Linked DNA regions of Homo sapiens: region 2 is linked to region 1. The links are contacts of gene promoters, found by promoter capture Hi-C in human tissues and cell types (Jung and others, 2019). All regions are on one chromosome and are shown on one strand. The core of a region is centred on a gene start or on the middle of the fragment in contact, and the rest is flanking DNA. Distances in the headings are between cores, read along the strand shown. Region 1 holds the start of CCDC13 (coiled-coil domain containing 13). Region 2 has its middle 59 kb from the start of TOPAZ1.

What was found. Contacts are between HindIII fragments. The study calls those that stand out against the background at their distance.
Region 2: a fragment that was not itself captured here is called in contact with the fragment with the promoter of CCDC13 in region 1 in 1 of the 25 tissues and cell types used here (aorta).

Annotation. Positions count from the first base shown.
Region 1 is chr3:42,771,280-42,778,407 of GRCh38, reverse strand. CCDC13 (coiled-coil domain containing 13) reads left to right here and starts at 5,155. Exons shown (of 16, transcript NM_144719.4): 1 at 5,155-5,232. CCDC13-AS2 (CCDC13 antisense RNA 2) reads right to left here. Exons shown (of 2, transcript NR_122070.1): 2 at 4,773-5,203. RefSeq lists an enhancer at 4,975-5,144 and a silencer at 5,275-5,434. The HindIII fragment of the contact is 11,501 bases long and covers 1-7,128 here.
Region 2 is chr3:44,179,167-44,186,294 of GRCh38, reverse strand. No RefSeq gene overlaps it. Among named protein-coding and RNA genes, the nearest start is that of TOPAZ1, 59 kb to the left of the region's middle. The HindIII fragment of the contact is 3,402 bases long and covers 1,315-4,716 here.

The DNA of each region.
Region 1 (7,128 bases), core at 3,906-6,405:
TTTTTGTTTCTCATAGTAAGAGTAGGGCCACTGTTTATGTTATGTTTACTTATTGGTGGGAGAGAGAATTTCAGTGATGGGAAATATATTTGGTGACTATTATCATTAAGATAAATAAGCATGGGTAAAAGTCCCACTTTAAAGTTGGAACTACATGGAACTGTGGGGAGAACCTAATTTAGGGATTAGGAAAAAAAGCCATTACACCCACACAAGTATGCACAGCTGATTTTTAAAACCTTTATTGTGGTAAATATACATATAAAAATTACCATTTTAACCATTTTTAAGTGTACAATACAGTGGAACTAAGTATATTCAAAATGCTATGTAACCATCACCACCATCCACCTCTAAAGTCTTTTCATCAGCCCAAACAGAAACTCCATGCCCTTTAAGAATAACTTCTGGTTGGATGTGGTGGCTCACACCTATAATCCTAGCACTTTGGGAGGTCAAGGCAGATCGCTTGAGCCCAGGAGTTCGAGATCAACCTGGGCAACATGGCGAAACACCATCTCTACAAAAAATACAAAAATTAGCTCGGTGTGGTGGTGCGAGCCTGTGGTCCCAACTACTTGGGATGCTAAGGTGGGAAGATAACCTGAGCCCAGGTGGTTGAGGCTGTAGTGAGCTGTCATTGCACGACTGCATTCCAGCCTGGGCGATAGAGCGAGACCCTGTCTCAAAAACAAACAAAAACCCCCAAACCTCTCTACTTGCCCCGTTCTTCCACTCCCTAGCATCCTCTATTCTACTTTCTGTCTCTATGAATTTGTTCATTCTAGGTACCTAATATACATGGAATCGTACAATATTTGCCATTTTGTGTCTGGCTTATTTCACTTAGCATAATGTTTTCAAGGTTCATCCAGAATTCAGAATTTCATTCTTTTCTAAGGCTGAATATTCTGTGGAGTATATATACCACCTTTTGTTTACTCATTCATCTGTTGAAGGTTGCTTGGGTTGTTTCTACCTTCTGGCTATCGTGAATAATGCTGCTATGAACACTGGCATACAATTACCTGTTTGAGTCCCTTCTTTATTTTTTATTATTACTTTTTTTGTAGAGACAAGGTCTCGCTATGGTGACCAGGCTGGTCTCGAGTTCCTGGCCTCAAGCAGTCCTCTACCTCAGCCTCCCAAAGGGCTGGGATTACAGGCATGAGACACTGTGTCTGGCCAAGTCCCTTCTTTCAAATCTTTCGGGCATATATTTAGAAGTGGAATTGTAAATCATACGGTAATTCAATGTTTAACTTTTTGAGGAACCACCAAACTGTTTTCTACAGTGGATATACCATTTTACATTCCCACTAGCTCTACATAAGGGTTCCAAATTCTTCACATCCTGGCAAACACTTGTTATTTTCCATTTTTTGGATAATATCCATCCTAATGGGTGTGAAATGGTATCTCGTGGTTTTGGTTTGCATTTCTCTAATGGTTAGTGATGTTGGGCATGTTTTCATGTGCTTATTTGCCATTTGTATATCTTCTTTGGATTAATGTCTATTGAAGTCCTTTGCCCATTTTTGAATTGGGTTTTGTTGTTGAGATAGCTAACCTGATTTTTGACAAAGGTGCAAAAGCAATTCAATGGAGGAAGCATAGCTTTCCAACAAATGGTGCTGGAACAACTGGACACCATAGGCAAAAAAGCAAAAAAGAACCTTGATCTAAATTTCATACCTTTATATAAAAATTACATCAAAATAAATCATGGGCATAAAACTCTAACACTTTTATAAAAATGGGGGGAAATCTTTGGGACCCAGGGCTAGGCAAAGAGTTCTTTCTTAGACTTGAAATCAAAAGCACAATCCATTAAAGAAGGAATTGATAAATTGGACCTTGTCAAAATCAAAGCCTTTTGTTCTGTGAAAGCCCAAGTGAAGAGGATTAAAAGATGAACTACAGATTCGGAGAAAGTATTTGCAAACTACGTATCCAACAACGGACTAGTATATAGAATATATAAAGAATTCTCAAAACTCGACAGTTAGAAATTGGGCAAAAGACATGAACAGACACTTCACCAAAGAAAATATACAGATGACAAATAAGCACATGAAAAAGATGTTCAATATCATTATCCGTCACGTACATTAGAACCACAATGATATCACTACACACCTATTAAAATGACTAAAATAAAAATAGTGACATCAAATGCTGGCAAGGATGTGAAGAAACTGTGTCACTTAAACATTTCTGGTAAGAATGTAAAGTGGAACAGTCACTCTGGAAAACAGGTTTGGCAATTTCTTCTAAAACTAGATATGCAGTTACCATACTACACAGCAATTGCACTCTTGGGCATTTATTCCATAGGAATGAAAACTTATGTTCACACAAAAACCTATACATGAATGTTTATAGCAGCTGAATCATAATTGCTCCTAACTGGAAACAACCCAGATGTCTTTCAGTGGGTAAATGGTTAAACAAACTGGTACATTCATACTAGAACTACTCAGCAATAAAAAGGAATGGATTATTGATACACACAACAACTTGGATGAATCTCCAAGGAATTGTTCTGAGTAAAAAAAAAAAAAAATCCATCCTAAAAAGTGTACATGCTGAGTTATTTCATTTATATAACATTTTTGAAATGACAAAATTTTAGAAATGGAGGGCAGACTGGTGGTTGTAAAGGGTTAGGGACTAGGGCAGGAGGAGGGAGGGAAGTGTACATAGTCATAAAATCACAACAGAGAGATCCTTGTGATAGTATTTGGTATCTTTTTTTTTTTTTGAGACAGAGTCTCACTCTTGTCGCCCAGGCTGGAGTGTAATGGCGCGATCTCAGCTCACTGCAACCTCCACTTCCTGAGTTCAAGCGATTCTCATGCCTCAGCCTCCCAAGTAGCTGGGATTACAGGCAAGCACCACTATGCCTGGCTAATTTTTGTTATTTTTAGTAGATATAGGATTTTGCCATGTTGACCAGGCTGGTCTTGAACTCCTGGCCTCAAGTGATCTGCCTGCCTCAGCATCCCAAAATGCTGGGATTATAGGCGTGCATGAGTCACCATGCCCGGCTAGTATTTGATATCTTGATGGTCATGGATACACAAACTGACACGTGATAAATCAAAAGAAAAGTACAGTTAAATTGGAGAAATCTAAGAGGAGTAGGTTGTATCGATGTCAATATCCTGGTTGTAATATTATACTAAAGTTCTGCAAAATATCATTGTGGAGAACTGGAAAAGTATACAGGGGATCTCTATTATTTTTTACAACTGCATGTGATTCTATAAAAATCTCAATATAATTTCAAATTAAAAAGCAAAAAACAAAGGGCAGTGTCCTACAGATACTTCTGGCTAGAGAAACAAAGTGGGCTGGAATTAACAAACATCTGTATACTGTACATGAGGAAATACTGGTGACCCAGATTGGATTCGCCAGCTTCTTGGATGATAAAATGTCAAGCTTATAAACTAAAGAAAATTCTCAAAAGAATTTTGGGCAGAAAAAAAAAATGGCATGAGAGCCTTAGTGGTGACCGTGGAAAAGTAACAAACCTAGAGGAAAATCATCCCTGCTTTTTAAAAAATGGGTTACTGCAAAAATGATATCCTCGTCAAAAATAATCCTTGGATTGCTGGAGCAAATGTTACCCCTTTCCCAAACTTTCTAATACATACATTCTAGAATGTCGGTTCTGAAATTCTCTTGCATCCTTAATTTTCTCACAGCATGTTCTTATTTTAATGAAAACCTGGCTTTCTGCTAGGATCCATGCTTTCCAGAAGCCCTCTAAGTAGACCTGGCTATTCCTTTTCCTATGCCACATAGTCCCATCGTGGTCATGAGGCAAACGAATGATACTCCCCACTACACACACCATTTAAAAAAAACCCTAATCCTTTGAGGCTCACATCTACCTGAATCCTACTCTTTATCCTGTCTCTCTTTGCTGCCACCTGTATATTATACGTCTCCCACCCTCAGCTCACCAGGCAGCAATTGGAGACCAACGGGAAAGATCCATTTTTCCTTTATCAGGAAACTTCGGGTTTATACCTGCAGTGCTGATGGCAGTCTAGTGCCGTATCTTATGTATGCATGTCTATGGGATGGGTATTCATTCACCTTATGAGGAAAAAAAATAGAAAAACAACTGCCAAGGTTTTCAAATTATGAAGTCCTGGATAAATATTTGGGCAGGAGCTGTGGCTCACGCCTGTAATCCCGGCACTTTAGGAGGCCAAGGTGGGCGGATCACCTGAGGTCAGGAGTTCAAGACCAGCCTGGTCAACATGGTGAAACCCCGTCTCCACTAAAAATAAAAAAATTAGCCAGGTGTGGTGGCGGGTGCCTGTAATCCCAGCTACTCAGGAGGCTGAGGCAGGAGAATCGCTTGAACCTGGGAAATGGAGGTTGCAATGAGCTGAGATCGCACCACTGCACTCCAGCCTGGGCGACACAGCGAGACTCTATCATAGATAGATAGATAGATTAGATAGATAGATAGATAGAAAGAAATCTCCCTTGAATCATCTTTCCTAGAAATTTGCCTCCCACCCCCATATTGCCCTGAAATATAGTAGTGTCTTACATTGGAAGGTGCCATTTAAAAAAAAAAAAACAAGTATTTTCCTTTATGAAAATAAACGATGTTCATTATTTTAAAAATTCTCTAAAGTGTAAAAATAAAAACACAGCACTGCTATTCCACCACCCAAATATAACCACTTTTAATATTTCTATTTCGGTCTTGTTTTAGTGCCTAGTTTGAAATAAACACAACTTTATTTATTTAGCATTGCTATATTGCGTCCTGCTTCCTTCACTCACCATCATAACATGGCCTTTCCCCACACTGTTTTACATTTTTCAAATATATCTGAATGGCTACTTTAAATTTCATGGTGAGATCGTTCGCTTTTTAACTCCCCAACAGGAGAGCGGAATGGGCATCTCTGTGCAGAACGTTTGGTCCACAAAACTTTTTTAAAAATATACTCCAGAAGATTTAAAATCTCCAGCGCACTCGAGATCGTGCTCGCTTGGATCCAGCCCAGCGCGCCATCAGCGCCTCTGTCACTTTCAGAACTCTTGGCGCCCCCTCGGCCCCCGTAGAGTAGCGTTGAAAACGCGCAAGTGACGTCGCTTGTTTCCCTGGTGACGGTTGCCAGGGCAGCGCGTGTCGGCGTCCGGAGGAGGTGACCTAGCCGCCGCGGTCCTAGAAGGGAGAAGTGGAGAGAGACCGCTGTAAGTGCCGGGGAGAGCGGAAGGGCCCGGGCCGGAGCTGGGAAAGCCCGCAGCTGCCGGGGGCGCGGAACCGAGCCCGAGCGCAACCCCAGCCCGAGCGCGCTGCCACTGGCCGGGCGCTCACCGCGTGCTGGGCGCCCAGCGAGGACTCTTCCCCTTCGTCCTTTGAATCTTCACACACAGCCCTCTTCTAACCCAGGCAGACGCTTATTTTCCATGCAGTACATGGGTTAATGAGGCGCAGAGGGTGGGTCGCCTGCCCCAAAGTCATAGCGTAGATGGCACAGTCAGAACTCGAACTCAGGTCCGCCTGACAAGCGCTGTTTGCTGGGCCTCTGCCACTGGGCCCTCTCGCACCGCACTGAAAGATGCGACCCGACGGCGTGCACTTCCGCATCTCCCAGTTCCCCTTCCAGGCCCAGCCCCCACAGGACTGGGGACTCGCAAGAGGGAGTTCCCCTCCAAGCCCGGAGTCCAGCCCTGAGAACCAGAGCATCACCCCGCTCCCATCCCAAACCCATCCCTACGAAGATGCTAGCAGTGCACAGAGCGCCAAACTAGGCATCCGTGGGCGGCCTCCCCACACCTCCAGGCCCCTAGACTGTTGTTGAGAATACTCGAAAAGAACACAGTAAAAGAAAAGAAGAAAGAGAAGGAGAGGGGAAGAGAAAAACAATGAAAAAAGTGGCAGGCCGATGGGGCAAGGGGTCTCAATCCTTCCTCACTGGTCCCTGTCACCTATGGTCCCATATCCTGTGGGATCTTGCTTCCTCATAGGACTCCAGAGTGCATGCCACTCTTCCTACTCCCTGGCTCTAAGTCCTACCTGAGCCAAGAGTTCTTTCCATGCAGCTCTAGCCTTTACTTTATTTTTTTTATTATTACTTTTTTTTTTTTTTTTTTTTTTTGACGGAGTCTCGCTCTATCGCCCAGGCTGGAGTGCAGTAGCGCGATCTTGGCTCATTGCAACCTCTGCCTCCCAGGTTCAAGCGATTCTCCTGCCTTGGGCTCGAGTAGCTGGGATTACAGGCGCCCGCCACCATGCCTGGCTAATTTTGGTATTTTTAGTAGAGATGGGGTTTCACCATGTTGGCCAGGCTGGTCTCAAACTCCTGACCTCAGGTGATCCACCCACCTCAGCCTCCCAAAGTTTTGGGATTACACGCATGAGCCACCACGCCCGGCTTAGCCTTTACTTTTAAAAGAAAATAGACTTAAAGCAGATTTTTAGAAGCATTAAACAAAAAACAGTTCCTTTATGTATTCCGTATTCCCATTTCCTCTGTTGTTAACATCTTACACATTGCATTGGTGTGGTACATTTGTTATCATTGATACAACTATACTGGTATGTTATTACTAACTAAAGTCCATAGTTTACATTAGAGTTCATCTGTTGTTGTTGTTGCTGCTGCTGTATTGAGACAGGGTCTCACTTTGTCACCCAGGCTGGAGTGCGGTGGCATGATCATGGCTCACAGTAGCCTCCAACCCCTGGGCTCAAGCAATCCTCCCACCTCAGCCTCCTGAGTAACTGGGAACACAGGCACATGCCACCATGCCCAGCTAATTTTTTTATTTTTTGTAAAGCTATGGTCTTGCTATGTTGCCCAAGCTGGTCTCAAACTCCTGGCCTCAAGTGGTCCTCCCACCTTGGCTTCGTAGAGTGTTGAGATTACAGGTGTGAGTCATCACACCTGGCCAGTGTTCATTGCTTAAGGTTGCACAGGTCTACAAGTTTTGCTAAATGTGTAATGCTGTGTATCCACCAGTAAAGTATACAGAACAGTTTCACCTCCCCAAAAACCCCCTAGGCTTTACTGTTCATTGTTCCTTCCCACCAACCCCTGGAAACCACTGATATTTTTCATTTAGAAGGGATTTACAATCACTGGT
Region 2 (7,128 bases), core at 1,766-4,265, 1.4 Mb before region 1:
TTTGGCAGGCATATACACACCTGCCTGCAGCTCTGAGTCATGTGCTTCAGTCCCTCTCTTGATCTTGAGACTTGTCTCCTTTCTGACACCTTTATTCCCTGACCTCAAGCTCCAGAGATCATCATTCCTCATCCAGCATTTTATAGAACTCCCTTTCCCTCATTGCTTATTCTCTTTAACCTGCTCAGCATCAATTCAGAGATCACAAATTGACAGCCTATTTGCTGAATCTGTCCTGAAGATATAGTTTGACCCATGAAACTTCTTGTTTTTAATTTGAATTCATTGTCAGCATTTAACAACGGGCATTTCACATAAACTTGGGCTTCTGGTTTGCACTGAAAAGTCATATCTAGGAACAACAGACCCACATTCCCATGGAACAATAGTTGGCTGGTGCTGCAGCAGCCACCTTCCTTAGGTGGGTCCCGCTGTCTCCAGCTTGGCACTGTCTGCACCTGCCTGCTTTGCTCTTCTACCTGCTAGACCTGAGTCTGAGCCCCTTGCTCTAGTTTCTTGTGTAGTCACCTTGCCTCTTACAGGCTGATTGTCCTGGATGCTGCCCCTTTCAATATAATGATTGCCTTACATTGGGCTAAACTGGATACAAAGAGAAGGAAGTGAAAACCATGTCATCTACGTAATAAAAACTAGAAAGGGCATTAAAAAGCAATTGGCCCTGTCAGCTAATTTCATCTAGAAATTTTCTGCTAGAAGTTCAATTTACTCTCCAATATTTATCTGATTTAGGGAAGCAAGTACAAAAGCCCTGGGGCAAGGGTGTAGGAGGGGGCAAAGTAAACAAGAGAGAAAGTAGTAGGAGATGAGACCAGGGAGTTCACAGGAGGCTAGGGTGTGACTGCGCAGGTGAAAGGAAATGGTCGGGTTCTGGTTTGCCAAGAGATTGGCATTTCCATGGGCTCCATCAAAATGAGGTCTCCCAATCCATTCTGCACTATGGGGCTGAACGGGACTCCTGAAGCTCACTTTTGAGAACACTCGCAGGAGAAGATGTAAGCCCACCTTTGATTTCCCATGCTTCCCAGTCACCCTTTTGCAGAACCTGTGATCTGAAGACTCAGTAAGCTGAGCAGCATGCCTGAAGTCATAGTCAGCAAGTCCAGGTTTAGGCCTTGGCATCCAGAATACAGAATTTCTGGATTCTCCAGGGATGACCTTTGCCCCAGAAGCTGCCCAGGATCATTAGAGAATTGCAAGACCTCTGGGAGTTCTCTCCGTGGAGTGGAGTCTTTCCCTATCTCTCTCTGGCTGTTCAGGGCAACCCGGCAATTGTATAACCCATTTTCTTGACTCATAGCCCTAAATTTCCTTCTGCCCAGTTCTTTCTGTACCTCCTAGTTTCTCCTCGTGACATCCCTGTGTCTAGAATGGCTCCAGTATGAGCAGATTTGGCTTTGGAGGCTGTTTTGCAAACCAAAATGAAGAGCCTGCTTTCACGTGGCTTGCAGGAACACCCTGCGAGTGAGCTTCAGCAGCAGCAGTTGCTTCATTCAATCCTAGGATACAACAAATGCTCCAAACAGGGCCACACATGCCTAGAAGTACAGCCCGTTTCTCAGAGCCACCCAGCAAGCGGCCATTTAATCTCAATTGCTCCCCAACAGTGTGTGCCAATTAAAGAGGAAGCCAGCAGGGCAAGGATCACTGGCGAATCTTTTGAGGGAAGGAGACCCCAGGGCTGCCTAGCCAAAGGCTCTCCCCCTCCATTCACACACTGTGCAAGAATGCAAACGGTGGGGCTGCCAGTTGGATCGAGGGCTGCCCCAGAAACGGGAGCTGAGATTCAGTCCAGATGGCAGCTAGAGTGGCAGCGCCACAGAATAGTATCCCCAGGGCTCGAAACTTCCAAAATGAGATTTACAGTTCTGGCCCGCCCCCTTTCGGGAGGAAACACCTGCTCCAGCAGCTTTGTGAACGGCCTCTTATTATCAACTTCTGTGCAGGGATCAGATTTTTGCAGCTAACTAGTGCCTGGTGTGAAATAAAAGCTATTTTGAGGTGGGAGGAGTTCTCAACCTTTCCTCTTGGAATTTTATGTCTTCATTAATTTCTCTCTCATCCATTATTTCCAGGTCTGCTTTCTTCCACAATTATTCCTTCTCTAGCTGCTTTTCCTTTCTAAAACTTCAGAACAGTGCTTTGGAGACCAAGCTAGGGCTTACTAGTAGTTCCCAACACTTCCTGCCCATCAGAATTATCAAGGGCACACAAATGTTATGCCTGGGCCACTTTCCAGCTCACTTAAGTCAGAATCTTTAGGGGTAGGTCCCTGGCATAGAAATATAAGTTCCTTAGCTGATTCTAATATGTAGCCAAGGTTCAGAACTACAGGCTACACAAATGATGCTTAAGAAGTAAGACAGAGTTGGACAGTCCTGATGAATTGAGGTTTAGCTTAATACCTGCCTGCAAGTCTCTAGAAGCAGGATTTAGTCCCAAAGATGAGCTGTGAGGAGCTGGATTATTTTTTCTTGGCTTTTCTCTTGTTATATGAATGATACATGTTCATTGAAGATTTAGAAAATGCAGAAACAGAAAAATCTATAACCATTCAGAACTACAGTTAATATTTTGGTGTATATTTTAATGTATGTCTCTTTTAAGCTAATTTTTATGCACATGTACAGAGCTGCTTGAATGAAAAATGGGATCAAACTATGTACCCTAGTAACCCTTTTAAAATTATGAGTCACTTTCTATGTGAGTAAATACAACATGGAACACAATCTAAATTGGTGGCGTAGCATTGTTTAATCGGCCTCCTATTAATAGATTTTAGGCTACTGTTCTCTTACAATAAACACCATGATGTCTACTCTTATTGCCAAATTTTTGCCCACATATCCATGATATTTTTCTGATCTTTTCTCTCTGCTCATTGACTGGGTCATCTTGCCTAGTCCCGTAGCTTTAAATATACTCCAAATTCTAATATGCCAAAATATAGACAATTCAAAAATATTTTATTCAAAAGGAGTTATTATGATGCTCCTCTGGCTGCCTATACCTCATCTCCTATCTGCTTCTTGTATGTTTGTTTTTTTTTCATACCAGAAATCTAGACATCACCCTCAATTCTTCCTTAACTCCCACAGCAGAATCTTTCCCCATCAATCCCTGCACAGGACTTGTTGGTTCAAGTTCCACATTGTCCTGAATCTATCTACATCTTTGTATCTTCTATCATCTCCTACTCTAAGCCACCCTCAACTCTCATTTGGACTAAAGTTTTCACTCTTGACCTTCTTATATCTTTTCTTCATATTGCTACCACAATGATCTCCCTTAGGCCTAAATCAGATGATGGCATTTCCCACTTTGCAGAGTTTCATGGCTCTCCATCTTCTAGAATAAAATTCACGACTTCGTGTCATGATCCACAGGCCCTGCAGATCTAGCTCCCGCTTATCTTGCTAATCTCATCATTCTACTTCTCCACTTGATGACTAGGCTGTAGTCATACTTGTATTCTTTCCGTTCTTAAGTATGCTAACTTCTTTCCCCCCTTGGGACTTTGATACTTGCAGTGCAGCATCCACCTAATGCAAGGGGAACTCGTGCAAACATGAAGCTTATGTTTCTTGTTGTTCCACGAGTAATTAAATCCTTTGATCTAGGAGTACTTTGACCATGAAATGGTGGCAGGCTAATTTGTTAACTTGCAAGTAGGGTAAAATCTCAGACCCTTTACAATTATTGACATTCACCATGCCAGTGTTCTTGGGAGGAAACCTTAACTCAGAGGAGGTCAAATATGCCTGGCTGCTTACTGAACACATTGCTTTTGAACAGACCTGGCAAATCACTTCTCAAGTACTATAGCTTCCCCCATCCCCTTCCCCACTATACCCACTTTCAACTGACTATTAAACCATACTGCACTAAAAATTTCAGCTCTAATCAATGGAAGAAGCAGGAGTGATTATCTCTCAACGCTCATAGCAGTCCTATTTGGCCTATGAGTAAAGTGGGTGGCTCCTGGGGACAAATGTTGGCAATCATGGCTTTTCACCAAACTAGACACAGTGAAAACTATTTAGGAAGTGCAACAGATTGAAAATGTGACAGATTTGACGAATGCTTGCTTTTCTGTATGAATTTCAAAAGGAAGCCAGGCACAATTCATTTTCTTACAGGAAGAAATGCAGTATGCATTTCTGAATTCTCCAATGTATGCTCACAACCTGGTGAGAAGCAATTTGGATTTGGTTACTATCAAAAGTTGTTTTTCACATTGATATTATGATGACCTCCTTTTCAAAAGAAGCAGGCAGGGAAGACTGGAGAACTCCAGTAGCACATATGACCAGCTGAAGATGGTTACTTCACTTGTTCCTATCAGTTCAATTTGGGGAAATAATTTGGGCAAAGATTATGCAGACAGGAAACATTACTGCTCAGGGTGCTATTTGTTTCTTAGAATTTTATCGTGCTTTTTAACAAAGACAAGTGCGAACTGGTGACTTTACCTCGTGTGTCTAAACTAAGACTGCCTCTAAATCCTGCCCAGCTGCCTACATGTATAGTTCCATAATCCTTGGCTTGTCTGACCCCCTGCCTTCTCTTTCCTGTGAATAGACAAAGACATGGCCAGCCTAACCCTGCTGTCTGCTCTGGGGTCGGCAGTGTAGCTGAATCCATGGATCTAAATTCATTATCTGATTTGAGACAGACAATGAATGGGCAAAAGGGGAAATCGTGACAGATGGCGATAGAGCACACAAATAGACGGTGATGCCAGGAAAGGATGTCACTATCTTCTCAAGACTGCATCTTGAGCTGGGTGCAGTGGCTCACGTCTGTAATCCTAGCACTTTGGGGTGGGTGGATCACTTGAGGTCAGGAGTTTGAGACCAGCCTGGCCTGCATGGTGAAACCCCATCTCTACTAAAAATACAAAAATTAGCCCGGCATGGTGACAGGTGCCTGTAATTCCAGCTAGTTGGGAGGTTGAGGCAGGCAGGAGAATCGCTTGAACTCAGGAGGCAGAGGTTGCAGTGAGCTGGGATCGTGCCACTGCACTGTATATAGCCTGGGTGACAGAGTGAGACTCTGTCTCCAAAAAAAAAAAAAAAAAAAAATTGCATCCTGGAACAAGAGAATAATACAGTTAGGTGTTTGTGGTGCCAAACCATGGCAGATTCTGGGAGAAGCCCCTGGATTTGCTTTCCCTTGAGAAAATTTGGACTGAAGCTAGAATACAAGGTATGCTAATTACTTGCTTGATCGATTGACAGGGTTTCACTCTGTTACTCGGGCTGGAGTGCAGTGGCGCAGTTAGTTCACTGCAGACTCAAACTCCTGGGCTCAAGCAGTCCTCCCACCCCAGCCTCCCAAGTAGGTAGAACTACAGGATCATGACTGACCCAAGGAATAGTTTAGAATTTTACTAGGTTAATTAGAGAAAATATACCAATCAATAGCCCTTTGGTCAACCTGAATGATAGCCGGCTGGATCATTATTTGGGTAGCTTTTGTTTGTTTTGGTTATGTTTGTGATATTGGTTCTTTTGTAGCCCTTAGCTTTGAACTTGCATGTACCTGGCAGCTGATACATTGTAATGTTGTAATTCAGGGTGGCATCTAGGTAAAGATATAAAAAAGTTGCATCTTACTGCTTACACAGTGTCTCAGAATTCACTTTGCTTTTTGACTATACCAGATGTGGATGTGGATGAAAAACCATGCAATCAAGCATTCAGGAATCAGAAGGGTGTCCACGAGGGTGAATACCTATGTGATATGGTCACCCCATCCCACTGGCTCCCCTGGAACTTTGGGATGGCAGATGGGTGGTGCTGTATAGTGAAACCTGGAAGCTTGGGTTTGTGAGAACTTGTTTCTTGGTTGCAAGGGTATGATCATGGCCTGGGACCAGTGGAACTCAAAGTTTACTGAGCAGTGGCCTTTAATGACCACCTCAATTAAGAAAAATAAGTGATATTTGAGACAAAGGATGTTTTTGCTTGGAAGGTTGGGGAAATGACACCATTATATTAACTGATGTATGATGTAGTAAGCATTACTTTAATCTCTGTAATCATTATAGAGTATAATAAAAGATTTCTAGCTTCATGTATAGAGCTAAATGAAAATCAAGCCAATGTAGCAGATGATCTCCAGGATGAACAGGATGAAAAGATGTTTCGGGAAGTAGTCTTAAAACCTCCAATTGATGTAATTCCCATCAAAACTTGCCAAAAGACACCATGGAGTTGAATGCTTCTATCGATATCTATTAAAAATGTGCAAACAATGGGTGGGGAGGGGGGAGAATATAGAAGGGAAGAGTGGAACAATTGGTACCATATTATATATCAGAACATTTGTGAATGGGGCAGAGTGTTGTTAACATGCTTTGCAGAAATAATCCCAACTCTTCATTGGAGGATGTAGATCTTAGTGGTTGTCTGTATTTTAGCATATTTATTTTGTTGTACAACAAATATGGTGGAAATTACTATATTAAGAATAAGAAAATACCTCAAACATGTATCAACATGTTTTAATGGGGATCAGGAAGTGAGCTGGAAGGAGGTTAGCAGCTGCTTCTGTAGTATTTCCTTGAGCCTCAGGGATAGCTGAGGATCTTCTTGCAGCATTAACTCAAAGAATTGTTGGGATGATATGCTACTGATAACATAAAATCCATCTGAGGATTATGTACAGGTGTCGCATGTTGTCAAAATTTGTTATTGAATAATGAATAATTGATATTGAGATGCAGCTGCCCTAAAGAATCAAGACTAGTCATATGCCTGAGGGGCTGTAAGGCCAGCTGGCATAAAGCCGAAAGAGCTCAGAGCCCATGGCTTCCCTGAGCTGGGGTCAGCAGCAGTCACTCAGTCTCGTCTCTTATGACCACACATGTTCCGAGTTCAGAATGGCTGGGACACCAGCAGCTGTGCCCAGGAGTCACAGGACCTATGCTCTGCCATTGCTGTGCATGCCAGGATATTTCATGCTCTCTATCCTTTATTAAAGCTAAACACACTTGGTGCTAGTTGAGGCCTGTTGTGTCTTATGAGATTGTCTATCTGAACCCAAGTCTACAGGGGCTAGTAGAATAGATATTGCAGTGACTTTATTATGTATTTTATATTGTTT